Regions from separate parts of the Homo sapiens genome. Here all the other regions are linked to region 3. Evidence: promoter capture Hi-C in 16 types of primary human blood cells and fetal thymus (Javierre and others, 2016). All regions are on one chromosome and are shown on one strand. The core of a region is centred on a gene start or on the middle of the fragment in contact, and the rest is flanking DNA. Distances in the headings are between cores, read along the strand shown.

Region 1 (4,062 bases), core at 324-2,823, 720 kb before region 3:
AAATGTAGGAGAGATGAAAAGATGAAAATAGGTAATCACAACTATGCAAACGAATACCGCATTAATAATTGCTGCAGGCAAGAACCATCTAGAAATTCTAAAGTCAATAGGTAAAGTATGGTAAGATATAGGATATTTGCATAATCTCAAAGCATTTTCCTGCAATACTTATTAATTGTGAAGGAAAAATAGCAATTTAACCAGGAGGAACTTGACAGTTCCCCCCTTCTTAACCAAGAGATGAAAGTTAGCATCACTACTAATAAATAAGACGTATCAACATCATGCATCCCCTCATATGATGCACTAAGAACATGGCAGTATTCTCGACAAAGACAGATTACCTCAACCTAATCATGAGAAAATAGCGGACAAACTGAGGGACATTTTACAAGATAATTGACCATTACTCTTCAAAAATGTGAAGGTCGTCGGGTGCAGTGGCTCACACCTGTAATCCTGTAATCCCAGCACTTTGGGAGGCCGAGACAGGCAGATGGCTTGAACCCAGGAGTTCAAAACCAGCCTGGGCAACATAAAAAAAAAAAACCTATATATGTAGTGGGGATAGGGTTTTATATATATTGTATATATATACACTATGTATATACTATATATATATACACACTATATATACTATATATAGTGGGGACAGGGTTTTATATGTAATATATATATGTATATATATATATATATATATATATATATATTAGCCAGGTGTGTTAGTCCATTCTCACACTGCTGTAAAGATAGTACCCGAGACTGAGTAATTTATAAACAAAGGAGGTTTAATTGACTCACAGTTCCCCAATGCTAGGGAGGCCTCAGGAAACTTACAATCATGGCAGAACGGGAAGCAAACACATCTTACATGGTGGCAGGCAGGGGAGAGCCAGCAAGGGAAAACTGCCTTATAAAACCATCAGATCTTGTAAGAACTCACTCACTATCCCGAGAACAGCATGGGGGAAACCATCCCCGTGATCCAATCACCTCCCACCCGGTCCCTCTCTCAACACTTGGGGATTATGGGGATTACAATTTGAGATGAGATTTGGGTGGGGACACAGAACCAAACCATATCACTAGGTGTGGTGGCACGCACCTGTGGTCCCAGCTACTCACGAGGCTGAGGTGGGAGGAGTTCCTGACCCCAGGAGGTCGAGGCTGCAGTGAGCCCTGATGGTCGCGCCACTGCACTCCAGCCTGGGTGACCCTGTCTCAAAAATAAAAATAAAAAATAAAAAAAATAAAGTGTGAAGGTCAAGAAAGATGGAGGAGCTATCACAGATTAGAGGAGTCCAGGAGACAAGACAAATAAATATAATAGAAGATAATGAATCATTGGATCCTGGACAAGAAAAAGAGCATTAGTGAGAAAGCTGGCAAACTTCAAATTATATCTGTGGAGTAATTAACGGTATTGTACAAATGTCCATTTCCTGGTTTCAATTATTGTCCTGCAGTTACTCTTAGGAATGTTAATATTAGGGAACCCTGAGTAAAGGCCAAGCAGAACTTCTTGTACCATTTGTACAACTTTTCTGTAAATCTAAAACTATTTCAACATAAAAAGTTTTAACACTCATTAAACAACTATGTCAAAATTCGTTTTTCCCTGAAAGCACAGTTGTGAACTCTTTCTTTGCTGATAGGTTGCTAACAAAATTATGTGAAAAGCCGCAATCCAGTCATTTGTAACACAGGCACCTTGGGCCTTAACCTTTTCCAGACCACAGCTCTTTAGTAATATACATTTTGGCCAGTAGGTGGCAGCACTTGACCAGTTTACCATCAGCAAAACCCAGGGGAAAAGGGAGCATAAAGAGAGGGAGGTAAAACAATGAGATATCCAGAACACAGGAGCAGAAGGTGACAAAGTCATTATTTGATGGACAGTCACTATAGGGAGATGCCATTTTTATGGGGATTTACATGATGAGGCAGGGAGGAATGAACTTGTAAACAGTGATGTAAGGCTTGGAGGCAAAATTACCTGCCCCTACCCCATCCCCACCCTATCCCCTACGCTTTCCCCTAGCCTGGGGCATCAGGAAGGAGCCCTAAGCATTACTTCTGGGTAATCACTGGGTGATTAATACCACACTGGTGAAAGAAGAATAAAGGGTGACTTGCAAATGTTTCACACTTTCAAAAAAATGAATTACAAAGAAATTATAAATTATATGCTAGTATAGGAAGTTCCATCATTTAAAACATATTTTAAAAATAAAACTATAGCCAAATTATGTATTTGTGTACATATCTATGTATGTATTTGGAGACGATCTTGCTCTGTCACCCAGGCTGGAATGCAGTGGTGTGATCACAGCTCTCTGCAACCTCAAACTACTGAGCACAAGCAATCCTCCTGCCTAAGCCTCCCAGGTAGCTAGGAATACAGGTGTGTGCCACCATGCCCAGCCTCCAAATTTATAATTTTTTGTTGCGGGCCTGGGAGGAGCTCCACTCAATTCTCTTCTGTCTTCTCTCACAAACCCAAAATCTGCTCACCATGTGCAGTTGCCCGAGCCTATACCTGACCACAGTTATCTCAGTTATCTGTTAGTTGCTGAGCCCCGGGGAGGTCAAGAAACTTGTTTTTGTTGTTTTTTTCTGTTTGTTTGTTTGTTTGGTCACCCAGGCTGGAGTGCAGTGGTGTGATCATAGCTCACTGCAACCTTGACCTTCTGGACTCAAGCTATCCTCTCGAGTTAGCTGGGACTACAGGTGTGCACCACCACGCCCAACTGATTTTAAAGTTTTTTGTAGAAATGGTCTCACTAAGTTGCCCAGGCTAGTCTCCAACTCCCAGGCTCAAGGGATCTCCCACCTTGGCCTCCTAAAGTGCTGGATTACAAGCATAAGCCACCGTGCCTGCCAAGAGACTTATTTAAAATACCAAGATTAACAAGTACCAGAGCTAGGACTTAAAGCCAAGACGTTGAGTAAGTCTATTCCCCCTTCCACAGTGCAGAAACCCATTCCAAACTCATGTCTTTTATCTGTGAAGGACAGGCTCAAAGGTGACAAGGATCTGAGTTGCATTTCAGCAGCAGATACCAAGGATTCCCTGATAAAGCTGAGTTTGCCAATTAGGCTGAACCCTCCCAGCCATGACTAAGACATATGAAATATTAATATGTATTTCAATAATGTTTCATATTCTGATTTTCCTAGGCGGGGAACTTCTGGTCCTCATTTCTCTACCCCACCTAACTAACCTTTTCTTTTCCCCAGTGGAAGGATAATTGTTGTGAAATGTAAAACCCAAAGTTTCTGACCAGAGCTTCCTGAAGCTTTTCCCAGAGTGACCTCAATCACTAGGCCTCAAACCAAACAAACAAACAAAGAAATCTATTTAAAGATATCCTTTCTACCACTCCTAATCCATAGCCTACTGCTAATGGACAGATGGGCATGGTGGTGCCTGCTCAGAGAGCTCCCCAGTGCTATCAAAATACTCAGTCAACGCTCACTGCCCAGCAGGCTGCACCTCCTCCCAGCCCACTCAGCAGAGCAGCCACTTGGAAGGATGTGTAGGACATGGCCTTCTGAATCAGCCAGAATCCAGCAGGGCTCCCTGGGACCTAGGCTTGAGGGATATTAGGACAGACAGGAATGAGCTTAAAGAGGCAGTTCCAATGGGAGCTGTTCCTGACTCTCAGGTCCAGGCCCAGGTTGGGGGCCACTAAGGGCAGCTGTCTCTATAGGAACCTCAAGGTCTAGTCCAAATCTTCCAGCCCAGGAAGCTGGAGCGCACCGATAATAGTTGGTTCTTCTCACTGGTTCCTCCTGAGAAAGGACTTCTTAGAAAAGAGAGACTCAGGCATGATTGAGGTTTCTATGCTTGGAGGGCCCTGAAGCCTCAAGTGACTTCCCTCTGCCTTCCCACCCAACAGGGAGTCTTTATTGTTCACTTTCATTCATAATATACTGAGACCCAGAGGGCAGGTTGTAGTCCTGGGACATGCTTTTTTTTTTTTTTTTTTTCCTGCTTTGGAACTTCTTGCTACATCTGCAGCTGAATGTGATAGGATCTGGGTAAGAGGGCTTGAATAC
Region 2 (3,716 bases), core at 253-2,752, 610 kb before region 3:
GTATTTCAGGTTTAAAATTAGTTATAATTTTGGAATCTTATTTAACCCTTAATAAAATTAACTTTTATGGTATTATTTATTTAAACCAACAGAAGAAATTATTATAAGCAACATGGTTCTCAAGCAATAGATCATCTCTTACTAGAGAAATAAGGATTAAGAGAACTACTTGCTTAAGTTGTAGTCAATATTTTATGTTCACTAAATTGAGGCACTGTAACTTTTGAACAGTATCATGAACTAAAATTCAGATGAAATTAGTCTTTTCCACTTTAAGATGTTTTTAGTTAATGGGTATACAGCTACCTTCCTATAATGAAGGAAAACTTATTTAAGAAATACTGTCTGGTCAGGTGCAATGTAATCCCAGCACTGTCAGCCTACACCTGTAATCCCAGCACTTTGGGAGGCTGAAGCTGGAGGATCGCTTGAGGCCAGGAGTTTGAGACCAACTTGGGTAACATAGCAAGGCTCCTGTCTCTACAGAAAAGTTTAAAAAAATAGCTGGGCATGATGGCGCATTCCTGTAGTCCTAGCTACTTGGGAGCCTGAGGTAGAAGGATCACTTGAGTCCAGGAGTTTGAGGTTACAATGGGACTGCCTATTCAATTTCAAAACACACTTTGAACCATGCAATTTCTTGGGTTAGCATTGTGTTTTAGAACACTTTAGTTATTTGTCCAGCCAACGAGGAAATCTAACTTTTCGTCAGTAGCTTTCAGTTTGAGTGTTAAATTCGAGATATGTTGCTTGCTTTAAAACTTGTTTCTTACATTAAAAAATGTAAAATGCATTCTAGAAATTATATATATATGGCAAACTAATTTGCCATAACACATAGGCGTAGGTGTTTGTCCTATTACTTGGATTTATCAGCTCTGTATCCTTTGGAAAGTTGAACAATATTGTAAGTTGAATATTGTCTTTTTTCCCTTTATACCATAATTCTTCACCTTAATATTTTCATCAACTCATAAAATCTTAAAGTTGGAAGACTTTTTTTAAGAAGTGGTGTACTTTGATAGTTAAAGTAACCTAGAACAAAAGAGGTTAATATGGGAGAATGTGGACCTCATGAAATCCAGCACAGTGCTTATTTTTCACTAACTAGTACCACCTTACAAACAGTGAGACCTAGGCAAGAGTGAGATGTGCAGAATTCCCAGACTTCAGTTTTCCACATACATGCTGAAATTTTAAAAACAGGTTTATTTTGTCATACATGAGACAATGTGAATTTTTTAAAATTATGAAGCATATCATAGCTACAAAGAGCATATACATTAAAGATGGTTTAGAGAACAGCAAAATGACCTCCCATGCAGTTGCTACTCAGCTTGAGAAGCAGAACCTTGTGTGCTGACTCCTGTGTTCCTCTCCTCAGGTACATCCCCAAAATATCCACTGTTCTGAATTCTGTGTTGTCTCTTTTAAAATATTTTATCACATATATAACCATAAACTATGTTGTTTAGCTTGTTTTTTAAACTTTTATGCAAATAGAATCATCCTATAGTGTTCTACAACCTGTATGTAGCTGTAGGTTATTATTCTTGTACTTACGTTTACTCCTGTATCCCATTATATGAGTGTATCACAGCATTCATTCTATGGACGATAAACACTTGTTTTTTCCAAAATTTTGTTGTTATAGACAGTGCTTCTTTGAACATTCTTATATTAGTCTCCTAGCATACATGTACAAGATTTTCTCTAGGTTATTTACCTAGGAGAGTAATTGAGTTGTAGAGTATGTACTTCTTAACTAGGTAATGCCAGGTTATTTTTGAAAGTGTTTGCACCAGTGTGTACCTTTACTAGCAGTGTATGACCACTTCTGTTGCTCTATACCTTTAGCAATATTTAGTCAATTTTCCTGCACAATCCTTTGAATGTGAAATCATATGTAATTGTAGTTTTAATTTGTATTTTGCAATGATTAAGGAGTTCTACATCTTATATTCATTAACCTTTCAGGATTCTTAGGTGAAATATTCTAGATATTCATCTTTTGTCAGCATTTGCATTGCAAATATTTTCTTTGTTTTTGGCATGTCTTCTCAGTCTCTGTGGTGCCTTTGGTGTAGCACTTCATCTTCCTTAGTCCATAGGAACCTTCGTAATGCCTGTGGTTTAATAAAGACAAGTAACTCTGAACTTTCAACAACCAACTTGGGAAACAAAGTTGTAGAACATTAGTTTTTAGAAATTTGGGGCTACTTTTAAGCTATATTTATAGGAGTGCTAGTAGAACACATGTGAGGAATACAGGGAGGCCTACTTTGGGATGTTTGAAAGATGGGAGTCTGGGAAAAGAACTTGTTCAGAACACACAGGAAACAAAAGTACAGTAATGACTTTCCTTAGGTACCCCACCACCACCAACGTCCTGCCCTAACCTGTTGAACTTCCTCTAGCTCTAATTTTACTCTATTGTATACAAATATTTTTTGTTTTTTGTCTTATTTTCCTGCTGTATATTGTTTCTACTTCATTTGTTTTGTTTCTCCCTGCTGCTTCCCCAATTCTGTCTTCATTTTGATTTCAATTCTTAATTACTTATCCTTCTAGTCTTTTCTTTTTTTTTATTTTTTAATTTTTTTTAGATGGAGTCTTGCTCTGTTGCCCAGGCTGGAGTGCAGTGGCACAATCTCAGCTCACTGCAACCTCTGCCTCCCGGGTTCAAGCGATTCTGCTGCCTCAGCCTCTCGAGTAGCAGAGATTACAGGTGCCCGCCATCAGGCCCAGATAATTTTTGTATTTTTAGTAGAGACAGGATTTCACCATGTTGGCCAGGCTAGTCTCGAACTCCTGAGCTCATGATGTGCCCTCCTCAGCCTGCCAAAGTGCTGGGATTACAGGCATGAGCCACGATGCCTGGCCTTTTTTTTTTTTTTTAACTACCCTTACCTCCACTGAGGATTTTTAGGGCATGAAAGGATTCCGTATGATACTCTCATGGTGGATACATGTCATTAACATTTTTCCAAACCCAGAAAATGTATGACATCCTGAGTGAACCCCAAGATAAACTATGGACTTTGAGTGATTATGATGTGTCAGTGTAGGTTCATCAAGTGTAACAAATATACCACTCTTTTGAGGTTGTTCATAATCGAGGAGGCCACACAGGTATTGGGGAGGGGGTATAATCTCTACTTGCCACTCAGTTTTGCTGTAAACTTAAAACTGCTCTTAAAACGTCTTTATATGACCTCTAACGTGATATTGAATTTTTTAAAAAACCTTTAGTTAAAAGCAATCCAAAAAAACTCTTAACTCCACAAAAAATGACTATGTTTGGATTATTAAGCAGCCAGGAAGGGAATATGGACACTTATAGATTGAAGGCTTTCTGTAATTAAGAATTTGAATTGGCGAGGGCAAGATGTTTGTTATGACAGCTAATTTTAGTCTTCTGGGAAGAGAATGGCCCTTCAGGATTGTATAAAGGAGAAGATTTACCTTCCTTAGCTTCAGATTTTTGTGGTCTAGAAAATATATTTGTTAACAATTGAGTGAAAAATTAAGTAGTTGCATAAAATAGATGGAAATTTCTTTAATGAAGTCATCAATTGTACTATTATTAAAATAGAGTTTTTGTTTTGTGTTATACTTTCATGGCACTTCAGTTAAAATTATTTTAATGGAAGATACATAAAAACTAATCACATGACATATTCATTTCTTTGTCATGTAAGCTTTTAATCTATTCA
Region 3 (3,743 bases), core at 57-2,556:
CTCTTCATTGTATGGCGTGTTAATTTTTCCCCTTGACAAATCATCTGTATCCGTTAAAAAAAAAAAAGTCATTACTGAGACTGCATCTTTAGCAATGAACACGAATTCTGCCGTTAATACAAGTAGGCTTCTAATTCCAACTCACCAGTCCCTTTCACTGGACCTTTTCCAATGAACAAGCAAAAGAAAAAATAAAACAGGAAAGGAATCAAGAAGCTCCCGCTGCACAGAGATCCCCCTAACACCTAAACCGGTTGGGTCCTACACTCGCCAAGAAACAAAAGGATGCCAAAACACCTTTACTTTTCGACACAACTCACAAGGCGGACTAAAATGCACAGCAAAGTGACAAGGCCCTTTTTGGTGAACCGACAAAACAAGCTTTCATTTGGGCACTTTTACAGACCACCACTTAAGGTCCCGAAAGAAGCTAAGGAAAGACTGTAGGGCCGAGGGAGGAAATTAGGAATTTCGTCTCCGAGTTTTCAGTACCTCATTCATGGCAAGACTCAAAACTTGGGCGGACTTCAGGGCTCTGAGACGAGCCGGGTGAGCGCTGCGCGCTACGCCACTGGAGACTTTGCCCGGCCGGAGTCAGCTGAGGCCGAGTCACCGGGTGGGATGGGGGAGGAGACGCGGGAGCATTTCGAAAGGCAGCGTGCCAGTAAGGCGAGACTCCACGCCACCTCATGTTCCCCGGGCCGCCGCCCCTCGCTCGCCCGCCCTCCGGTCCGGTCCGGCTGGGTTTCGAACCCGCGGAGCCAGGCGCAGGCGGCGGGACGGCAGCAGGCGTGCGGGGCCAGGGAGCGGGCGCGGCCTGGCAGGGCGACCGGCGAGGGGCGTGCCGGGTGGGAGGGGCGCGCTGGCCGCCTGGCCGGCCCCACGCGGGGACCCCAGCCCGCCGCCCGCCCGCCCGCGCGGGGACGCGCCGGCCAGGCCCGAGCGGGCGGGCAGGCGGGCGAGCAGGGGGCGGGCGGCAGACCGAACAAAAACGCCTTTGTTGAGCGGCAGCCGCCGGAGGGTCACACACAATGGAGGAGGGAGCCGGCTCCGCCGTCGCCGCCGCCGCCGCCGCCGCCGGGCCCGCCGCGGCGCCCTCCCGAGCCGCCCCGCCGGCGCACCCCGCACACGTACACACACACACTCACGGGACTTCTCCGACTCATCGAGAGAGTGCGGGGCTCGCGGACTGCCCCCAGTGTCGGCTCAGGTCTCCGGCTGTGCTGGCGGCAGCGGCGTCTCCGAGGCTCTCGCTTTGCCGCAGTCGCCGCCATGTAACCCCGACCCGCGAGAGAGGGCGAGGAAGAGGGGGCGGGGCTTCGCGGTGCCACGCCCCCTCACGTCACAGGCTCACTCCACGGGTTCTCCCGCCCCCGCCCTGCCCAGCGCACCCGCACGCGCCGGAATTTCCAGCGCCCGTGACTGGGCTGCGCGCGCCGCGGAGGCGGTGGGAAAGGCACGCGGCTCGTCCGGCGTCTCCTGGGGGCTTTGCCTGCGGGCGGGCAGGGAGGAAGACAGCTGGGGCCGTTTGCTCTACTACCTGCCCTGGCATTAAGGGAACAAAGTGACCAAACCCAGTGCCAGCGTTTACTAAGCACCTACTACGTGCAAGGCACTGGGCAATCCGAGAGGAAGAGGCCTCAGTCTCCAGGAAGGGTGGACCTTAAGATGGATTGGCTGGAAGGCGACAGCCCGAGCACAAGACAGACGCGTTAGAGGCCAATACTAAGGTCATTCATTCTGCCAGAGTATGGAGGAAGGCTTTCAGGAGTGGTCGCCAAGGTGGCCTTTCAGCTGGATCCCGGAGGAGCGGATATAACCAGGAGGTGGGGAGGGTGTTTCTGTGAGCAAAGACTGGGAGGCCAGAGTACCTGGCTTGTTGCAGGAACTGGGATAGGACAATTTGAATTTGGGAAGGGATGCACTATGAAACGTAGAAAGGTGGATGGGTGCCTTCTTGGGCCCACTTGGCTAAAAGCAAACTTACATTACTTATCATGGCTTATTGAGTCCAAGGAGCCTTTTCAGTGTTTATGTGAAATTTAAGTATTTATGAAATTAGAGACGCAGGTCAGCATATTTTTTCAATGACTTCATCACCATCTTGCTGAGAACCAGACATAGAATAGCCCTTCTAGTCATTATTATGGGCATCTTCAAGAAAGAGGCAAAGACCACTTCAAAAAGATCACAAAGGGCCAGGCGTGGTGGTTCACGCCTGTAATCCTAGCACTTTGGGAGGCCGAGACGGGCAGATCACCTGAGGCCAGGAGTTCGAGACCAGCATGGCCAACATGGTGAAAGCCCCGTCTCCACTAAAAATACAAAAAGTAGCCGGGTGTGGTGGCTCACACCTGTAATCCCAGCTACTCGGGAGGCTGAGGCAGGAGAATAGCTTGAACCCCGCGGGGGGTTGCAGTGAGCCGAGATCGCGCCAGGACACTCCAGCCTGGGCGAAAGGGCGAAACTCTGTCTCAAAAAAAAAAATCACAGAGTAATGAAGTTAAGTGGTTGGGGTGAGCTTGAATGCTTTATATTTTTTAATATTTAAAACAACGTCAGCTGAGTACCAGGTGTGAAGAAGAGGTAATGAGTGAAAAAAACCAAGAGAAAGGGGAGACTTGTTCCAACCGCAGAATTTCCAGCTTCTGCAACGAGAGCTCGTACCTTCAGCCCCACTGCCTCTGCTCTAGGCTCTCCTCTGATCCTCAGGACATTTTTCCTCTCACTCTTTGAGAACTCGTTTACCTTCCTTTTCCATCAATGTCTGATCACCCAGAGAAGGTGGGAGAATAAATACCAAGCACTGTGCCTTCCCTCAAGGAGCATTTAATCCAGTGTCACTGCTGACTTCCTGTGGATAATGCAAAGTTGGCTTACAATAGTAAGGGAGACCACTAAATTGACAGAATCTTTGTAGCATTTCAAAAGGGTGTCAGGCCTCTGAGCCCAAGCTAAGCCATCGTATCCCCAGTGACCTGCACATATACATCCAGATGACCTGAAGCAACTGAAGATCCACAAAAAAAATGAAAATAGCCTTAACTGATGACATTCCATCATTGTGATTTATTTCTGCCCCAACCTAACTGATCAGTGTACTTTGTAATCTCCCCCACCCTTAAGAAGGTTCTTTATAATCTCCCCCATCCTTAAGAAGATTCCTTGTAACTCTCCCCACCCTTGAGAATGTACTTTGTGAGATCCACCCCCTGCCCCCAAACCATTGCTCTTAACTCCACTGCCTATCCCAAAACCTGTAAGAACTAATGATAATCCACCACCCTTTGCTGACTCCTTTTTCAGACTCAGCCCGCCTGCACCCAGGTGAAATAAACAGCCTTGTTTTTCACACAAAGCCTGTTTGGTGGTCTCTTCACACGGACACGTGAGACAAAGGGGAGGTCAAGGATGGAATAATTACAAGATTTGGGGGATCTGGTTTTTGTTTGTTTGTTTGTTTGTTTGTTTTTGAGACAGAGCCTCGGTCTGTCGCCAGGCTGGAGTGCAGAGTGGTGCAATCTTGGCTCACTGCAACCTCTGCTCACTGCAACCTCTGCTCAAGCGATTCCCCCGCCTCAGCCTCCCGAGTAGCTGGGACTACAGGTGCGCGCCAGCACACCCAGCTGATTTTTGTATTTTTAGTAGAGACGAGGTTTTACCATGTTGACCAGGATGGTCTCGATCTCCTGACCTGGTGATCCACCAGCCTTGCCCTCCGAAAGTGCTGGGATTACAGGCAT
Region 4 (4,053 bases), core at 578-3,077, 630 kb before region 3:
CACCCTCTGTCCAATCAGCTGTGAGTGCTGTTGCTATGTGCGCTCTTACTCTGCTGCCTTTGTGAAAAACCTTACACGGAGGGAAGCGGGATCAGCACCCAACGCTGAACATTTGTTTTAACCGCTGCAGACATCTGGATCCCTCAGTTACTGATAGTATAGCTATTGATAGCCAGAAGGCAACTTCCTTTATACAAGGATTCCAGTATGGTTTTCAGTGGAAACAAAGGGCTTCACAGAGAAGGTGTGTAGTGAAGTGTTTTTTAACGGCTTTATTTTTAAGCTTCCAATTTTCTGTAGCTGTTTACCAGTTGGCTGTGGTGCTTGCTTTGCATGGATTTTTAATAAATAGGTCTAGGAAAATTATCTCACTTTGAAAACCATTGAACTTAGAGAATTTTCTTTAGCTTCATATAGCCTGTTTTCTTTGAACAGCAGTACTGAAAAGATTATTAAAATGCTGAACTGAACAATGAGTAGGAAGAAAAGAAACCAAGTACAATGTGCTCACTTTAATGGGGAAAAAATGTGATAGAAATGAGAATACAGGGAAGAGAATGTGCATTAGCCAGAAGCATTAACTGTATGTGGGGGCAGGAGGTATTTTTTAAATTAAAGCTGTTAAGACAAATGTATTTTAAATAAGCTGCATATTTTTAATTGAATTCATGTTTCTGAATTTGACAAAGATTGTCAGAATTTAACTAAGTGAGATTTTTGACATAGTTTAAGGAATTGGTGTGCCAAAATCTTTTTATAAAGCATTTCTGAAAATCCTACCTCAAATTGTGCAATCTCTTAATTATTTAATCCATTGACTAGTTCTGTGCAGTTCAGATAAAGCATCATAATTCAACCGCAAAGTCAGTGTAGTGTTCTATTAAACATCCATATAGAAAACTGAAGGATAAGGGATTTTGAAGACAACATACAAGGTTAAACTAGTATTTTAAAATTGAAGTAGGCCTCCTAAATGTAATAATTGCATATCTGACTTAGTTAATACTTCAAATATAGTCAAATCTTATTAAACTGTACTAATATAATATATGTGATAATTGAACAGAGTGTAGGTTACCATTTGTTTATATAGGATCTGGAAAAATTGGTCTGTTCAACAGATTATAGGAAAGTTTTAAAGTGTTTTAATAAACAAAAGGTCTTTTTGTATCTTTCTCAAATACTGTGAAATTAAAGTTTACATATGTGATTTAGCTAATGGTTCTTTTAATTAAAGCAGAGCAGACTAATTAGCATATTGCCCATTTTACGAAGGATCCGTATTGAGCTAATAACCGGCTTTTCCTTTGCTTTTTCGTTTTACATGGCTAAGTGGCCTTTAGTTCACTCAGTGATGTATGTCTGATGAGTAAAGTCAGTATAAGCTCAGAGTTAATATTAGGGCTTTGTTATCTCTACAAACTATATAGTTTGGAATAGGATGGGTTTTGTTGTTGTTCTTTTCAAAAAATACCTGTCATTAGAAAGTCTTAACAGTGTTAGCATTTCTGGTAAGGAGAGATATTTCTTTTCTTTAAAGAGAACTCAAAATATTATCCCATGCTTTTGTGCCCTTTGCTGATCTTTGTAACAATACTATGTATATAACATTTGTATTAAAAAGATGTCTAATAATTGGTGAAAATTTACAAAATAGTCCTTAAAGATTAAAAAAATGTTTTACGTAGACCTACATGTGGCTGAAGTTTAAAAGACTGGCATTTCTTAGATTTTCAAGTTTGTAAGGTGCAGCCAAAAACTTGAATTTGATAGAAGTTATAAAAATTATAGCAAAATAAAGTTATATTATTTGGACTTGGTGGCCTCCACAATATAAAGCACTCACTTCAAGAAGAGCAGCTGTGTGTAGAAGGGGTAGGGGTATGAAAGGGAGTTTGGAGTGAGAGGCAGACACAGGCAGAGAGGACTCAAGTTTGTTAAATATGACTAACCACATGAAAGTCAATCTAGCAATTTTCATTTTTTAGCTGTAACTCTTATGAATTACTAATTTTATTTTCTAATTATAGAACCATAAAAACCAAAGTTTTGTTTAAATTGATTTGCTACCCATTTTATGTTGGTTTATTTCATAAAAATTAATAGAGCCTCCAAGAGAAAGGCTATTTCTCATTCATATGCTGCAAAAGATGGGGGAACATGAAATTGTAAGAAAGTTGAGTGTACTGCTGTGTCACACAGAGGCTTTGCCATTGTGTTCAGGAGGAATATTATTGGCAGAATTCCAGACATTATTGCTGGGCTTAGCACCTAAAAATGTTTTATATACTGGAGCATCTGAAAGTTCCTATTCAGTAGCAGAACTTCAGGGTAGTTGAGGTTTATAATCTAGTCAGTTATAATAACATTGCTAGCATATTTCAGTTTTTTGGATTTGTCTATTATTTGACAATATAATTTTTATTGTCTTTGTCTATGTCATATCTTTAAATTGGCTATTGTTTTGTGCTTATGGAAAAATACTTTAATTCTCAAAAACAGTGATTTCTTTTTTGTTTTTGCCTCTTTATAAGGAATAGCAAATAGAAGTGCTAGTATTTACTAGATGCAGTGATTGCTACAGTTGGTTTTAAGTAAAACAGATTGTTTTTGATTATTTTGAAATCAGGCAATAATATATAATGCTGTTTACAGTTCTTTAAAAAATATGTAACTTAAAAACTCAGATTGGGAAGGGGTAACAATCTGAGTTTTTCTTTTTCTCTAAGTGTTCTGTGAAAATCTTTTTTTAAGTCGTTCCTACTTCAGGTATTATCACAAATGTTTGATTTCTATATGTATGCCTTAAGTGATATATGACACATTTTTTTCCTTGACTCTTCCTTGCGGAAATTTCATTACTTGTTCATAGTTTGAATCTAAGAAATATTTGCTTTTCATAGTCAGCAGGGCCAAAACTTTGGTCTTGACAACTTTTTGTCAGGCATTTTCACATATCGACAGTGTTTTTGCATAAACTGTATTGCTTTTGCAAGTATATAGTAAATTTTTTTCTTAATCTTCAGATGTTATAGTATCAAAAATTCAAAGACCTAAGTTTTAAAAATGTAATTGTTTGCAGTATTACTTGAATCTATTATATAATCCTTTGTGATGAGGCTCAGTTATAAAAGTGACAGCATGAGGACTATTGAGAAACTGGAAATATCTTTCTGTTCTTTCTTCACTGGATTCCTCAGTTTTACTCACTGAAAGACTTCTGGACATCATAGGACTTGAAGAGAAGGTTTATAATAAGCCCAGGAACAGTAAAATTATAAATTTGAGGAAGTAGTCAAGATAGAGTATAAAAAGTAATCAGCCCCTAAGGCTCATACATGGATGGGCCTCAGATTTTGCTATAAGCTTCCTGTCATCTGTCATATGAGAGGGATGCTGTGTGAATCAGTTATGTATATTCCTGTTCTTTAACATTGCTAAATTTTTACCATTAAAATTTATGTTGGTTTCTGTTTTCTTAATATTTTGAAGGTGTTTTGTTTTTTGAGGTTCAAATTTTGGGTGGTGGGTACAAACATACAGTTAGAAGAAATCGTTCTGTCATTCAATAATATGATAGGAAATTATAGTTAATAATTATTGTATATTTCAAAATACCTAGAAGAGAAGAATTGTAATGTTCCCAGCACAAAGAAAATATAAATGTTTGTGGTGATGGATATTCCAGTTACCCTGATTTGATCATTACACATCATATACATGTGTTAAAATATCACATGTACCCCCAAAAATACATACAACTGTGGTATATCAATAAATAAAAAGGAAAAACAATTTTGGGTGGATTGCCTGTATAATTTATTATTTAGCTGTGTAATATTGGGCATAGTTTCACCTTCTGGGCCTTAGTATCCCCCTCGGTATCATGAGATTTTAGGATGATTGTGGGATTTAAATGAAAGAATGTGCGAAACTACTTAGATTCATTACTACTTATTAATTAGCTATTATAATAAAATGTGAGATTGTATTATAACTTTCCTTTAAAGTTATTCTACGTTAAAAACGTGAATATGTTGAGTTTTCTCAGTA
Region 5 (3,553 bases), core at 1,043-3,542, 550 kb before region 3:
GGGCTCTTAGGAGACCAAGTGCATTGTCAATGAGCTACAATATTTTGAAAGGATTTTTTTTTTCTGAGCAGTAGGTCTCAATAGTGAGCTTAAAATATTAACTAAACCATGTTGTAAACAGATGTGCTGTCATCCAGGCTTTGTAGTTCCATTTGCAGAGTACAGGTAGAGCAGATTTAGAACCCTAGGATTTTCAGAATAGTAAATGAGCATTGGCTTCAGCTTAAAGACACCAGCCACAATAGCCCCTAAGAAGAGAGTCAGCCTGTCTTTTGAAGCTTCGAAGCCGGGCATTGACTTCCTCTAGTATGAAACTCCTGGATGACATTTTCCAACAGAAGGTCGTTTTGTCCACATTGAAAATCTGTTGCTCATTGTAGCCCCCTTAGTCAATTAGCTTAGCTAGATCTTCTGGATAACTTGCTGCAGCTTCTCCATCAGCACTTTCTACTTTGCCTTATACTTTTATGTTATGAAGATGGCTTCTTTCTTTAAACTTCATGAACTCACCTCTGCTAGCTTCAAACTTTTCTTCTTTAGCTTCCTCACCTCTCTGAGACTTCACAGAATTGAAGACAGCTAAGCCCTTGTTCTGGATTAGGCTTTGGCTTAAAGGAGTGTTGTGGCTGGTTTGCTCTCCTATACAGATCACTAAAACTTGGACCATATCAGCGATAAGACTGTCTCGTTTTCATATCATTCATGTGTTCACAGGAGTAGCACTTTTAATTTCCTTCAATAACTTTCCTTTGCATTCATAACTTGGCTAACTCTTCGTCACAAAAGGCCTAGTTTTTGGCTGTCTCAGCTTTTGACATGCCTTCCTCACGAAGCTTAATCATTTCCAGCTTTTTAAAAATGTTTAATCTATTTATTTGTTTATTTAGAGACCGGGTTATGAGACTGGCTAATTTTTGTATTTTTGGTAGAGACGAAGTTTACCATATTGCCAAGGCTGGTTTCAAACTCCTGGGCTCAAGCAATCCACCAGCCCCAGCCTCTCAAAATGCTGGGATTACAGGCATGAGCCACCGCACCTGGCCATTTCTAGCTTTTGATTTAAAGGAAGAGATATGCAACTCTTCCTTTCACTTGAACACTTAGAGGCCATTGTAGGGTTATAATTTGGCCTAATTTCAATATCGTTGTGTCTCAGGGTATAGGGAAGCCCAAGGAGAGAGAGACAGGGGAATGCTGGTTGGTACAGCAGTCAGAGCATACACATTTATTGGTTAAGTTCACTGTCTTATGTGGGAGTGGTTTGTGGTACTCCCCCAAAATTACAATAGTAATGTCAAAGATAACTGATTACAGATCACTATAATAGATATAATAATAATGAAAACGTTTGAAATATTGCAAGAATTACCCAAATGTTACACACGATCACAAAGTAAGCACATGGTGTTGGAGAAATGGCGCCTATAGAGGCTGGATGCAGGATTGCCACAAACCTTCAATTTGTGAAAAATGCAGTATCTAGAAGTACAATAAAATGAAGCCCCAAAAAACAAGGTATCCCTAGATGGCAGTTTAGACTATGAATGTCCACCGGGCGCAGTGGCTCAAGTCTGTAATCCTAGCACTTTGGGAGGCCGAGGCAGGCCGAGCACTTGAGGCCAGGAGTTTGAGACCAGCCTGGCCAACATAGCAACACCCCGTCTTTACAAATTATTATTATTATTATTTGAAACAGTTTTGCTCTTGTTGCCCAGGCTGGAGTGCAGTGATATGATCTCAGCTCACTACAACCTCCATCTCCTAGGTTTGAGCAATTCTCCTGCCTCAGCCTCCCAAGTAGCTGGGATTACAGGTGCCCACCACCATGCCCAGCTGATTTTTGTATTTTTAGTAGAGATGGTTTTACCACGTTGGCCAGGCTGGTCTCGAACTCCTGACCTCAAGTGATCCACCCGCCTCGGCCTCCCAAAGTGCTGGGATTACAGGTGTGAGCCACCGTGCCAGGCCTACAATTATTAAAAATACAAAAATTAGCCGGGCATGGTGGCATGTGCCTGTGGTCCCAGCTACTTGGGAAGCTGAGGCAGGAGAATCACTTGAACCTAGAAGGCAGATTGCAGTGAGCTGAGATGGTGCCACTGCACCCCAGCCTGGGTGGCAGAGTGACACTTTGTTTCAAAAAAGAAAAAAAACTATGAAGGTGGAAGTTATTTCCTGGAGGCTGTGTAAACATAGAAGAGAAGGAGATCCAAGGACAGAACTGTTAGAATCCTCCCATTAAGAGGCAGGTTAAGATTCAACAGGGAGGTTAAGTAGGAGGAAATCCATGAGACAATAGTATCCTGGAGATCAAGAGAAGGAAGTTTTGACAAACAGGGTGCTGGGGACCAGTGTGCAGTTTTACACATTAAGGTTCATAATGATGCAGAGTGGTGTTAGTTGGGAAAGAATGGCTTTCCAGACAGGTCCTCATTGTGGAGCATTGCCCATGGTGAATTCTCCATTTGACCAAAGTCTGCCCCCAGAAATTCAAACTTCCCCTTCTGCGAGTGTCACTATCAGAAACAGATTCTTTTTATCCAAGGTCACATAGCCAATTTTAAAAAAAAGGCCAGATGTGGTGGCTCGCTCCTATAATCCCAGCACTTTGGGAGGCCGAGGCGGGTGGATCACTTGAGGCCGGGAGTTCGAGACCAGCCTGGACAACACGGCAAAACCCTGTCTCTACTAAAAATACAAAAAATTATCAGGGTGTGGTGGTGGGCAACTGTAATCCCAGCTACTTGGGAGGCAGAGGCAGGAGAATTGCTTGAACCCAGGAAGTGGAGGTTGCAGTGAGCCGAGATTGTGCCATTGCACTCCAGCCTGGGTGACAGAGTTGAGACTCTGTCTCAAAAAGAAAAAGAAAAAAAAGTTTTTTTTCTTTTTGTAGAGACAGAGATTTGCCATGTTGGCCAGGCTGGTCTTGAACTCCTGAGCTCGAGCGATTTGCCCGCCTTGGCCTCCCAAAGTGCTGGGATTACGAGTGAGCCACTGTGCCCAGCCACAGCCAATTTTCTTGAGGCTGAGTTTCATCATTAAGTGTATGTCTATCAGATTTTAACTCAAGTTCACAAATACATTGATATAGGACATATACTAGAACGTCAGTCAATTTATTAATAAAAATACAACTGTTAAATGCTTCAGTGGCCTAACTACTGCACTCTTCTTTCTCTCTGCAGTTCTGCTTAAGGGAAAGGCAAATTTTCAGTATGTTACTTTGTGAGTATAGAAGGAGAACAAATATGTCGTGGATCTTACAGTTTCTCAGCTAGCCCAGCGTGAGACATTCTTAAGGGATATCTTTGTCAAACAGTTGGCCTGTTGAACCCTTTTATTTTCAATACTTCCTTGGCTGACAAATGCCTTCCTTCGTTTCTCCAAAAGGAGTGCAATATTAACTCTTTTTGTTTTTCTAGTTGCAATTCCAGTGCAATTCTTCCTGTCTGAGATTCTACATCCTGGTTGAGTTTCGATGGTTTCCAAATTCCTTATCCAGGCATTTAGGGTCTTTCAATTGTTCCCCTGCCCCCAGAAATGCATTCATTTT

What was found. Contacts are between HindIII fragments. The CHiCAGO score rates a contact against its expected background, and 5 or more counts as called.
Region 1: a fragment that was not itself captured here is called in contact with the fragment with the promoter of MAPK6 in region 3 in 1 of 17 cell types (total CD4 T cells); the score reaches 5.5 in total CD4 T cells.
Region 2: a contact is called between a fragment that was not itself captured here and the fragment with the promoter of MAPK6 in region 3, in 1 of 17 cell types (total CD4 T cells). The highest score is 6.8, in total CD4 T cells.
Region 4: a contact is called between a fragment that was not itself captured here and the fragment with the promoter of MAPK6 in region 3, in 3 of 17 cell types (fetal thymus, total CD8 T cells and erythroblasts). The highest score is 7.2, in fetal thymus.
Region 5: a contact is called between a fragment that was not itself captured here and the fragment with the promoter of MAPK6 in region 3, in 6 of 17 cell types (naive CD8 T cells, naive CD4 T cells, fetal thymus and 3 more). The highest score is 9.1, in naive CD8 T cells.

Annotation. Positions count from the first base shown.
Region 1 is chr15:52,733,383-52,737,444 of GRCh38, reverse strand. No RefSeq gene overlaps it. Among named protein-coding and RNA genes, the nearest start is that of ONECUT1, 55 kb to the left of the region's middle. The HindIII fragment of the contact is 3,457 bases long and covers 1-3,301 here.
Region 2 is chr15:52,628,689-52,632,404 of GRCh38, reverse strand. The region is part of intron 2 of ATOSA (atos homolog A); the gene reads left to right. Among named protein-coding and RNA genes, the nearest start is that of ATOSA, 49 kb to the left of the region's middle. The HindIII fragment of the contact is 4,403 bases long and covers 1-3,703 here.
Region 3 is chr15:52,016,782-52,020,524 of GRCh38, reverse strand. MAPK6 (mitogen-activated protein kinase 6) reads right to left here and starts at 1,306. Exons shown (of 6, transcript NM_002748.4): 1 at 1,149-1,306. It overlaps MAPK6-DT (MAPK6 divergent transcript), which reads left to right and starts at 1,430. Exons shown (of 2, transcript NR_156732.1): 1 at 1,430-1,826. RefSeq lists enhancers at 246-295, 1,636-1,705 and silencers at 546-1,055, 1,356-1,465. The HindIII fragment of the contact is 8,244 bases long and covers 384-3,743 here.
Region 4 is chr15:52,648,061-52,652,113 of GRCh38, reverse strand. The region is part of intron 2 of ATOSA (atos homolog A); the gene reads left to right. Among named protein-coding and RNA genes, the nearest start is that of ATOSA, 29 kb to the left of the region's middle. The HindIII fragment of the contact is 3,083 bases long and covers 286-3,368 here.
Region 5 is chr15:52,569,910-52,573,462 of GRCh38, reverse strand. No RefSeq gene overlaps it. Among named protein-coding and RNA genes, the nearest start is that of ARPP19, 2.7 kb to the right of the region's middle. The HindIII fragment of the contact is 2,913 bases long and covers 836-3,553 here.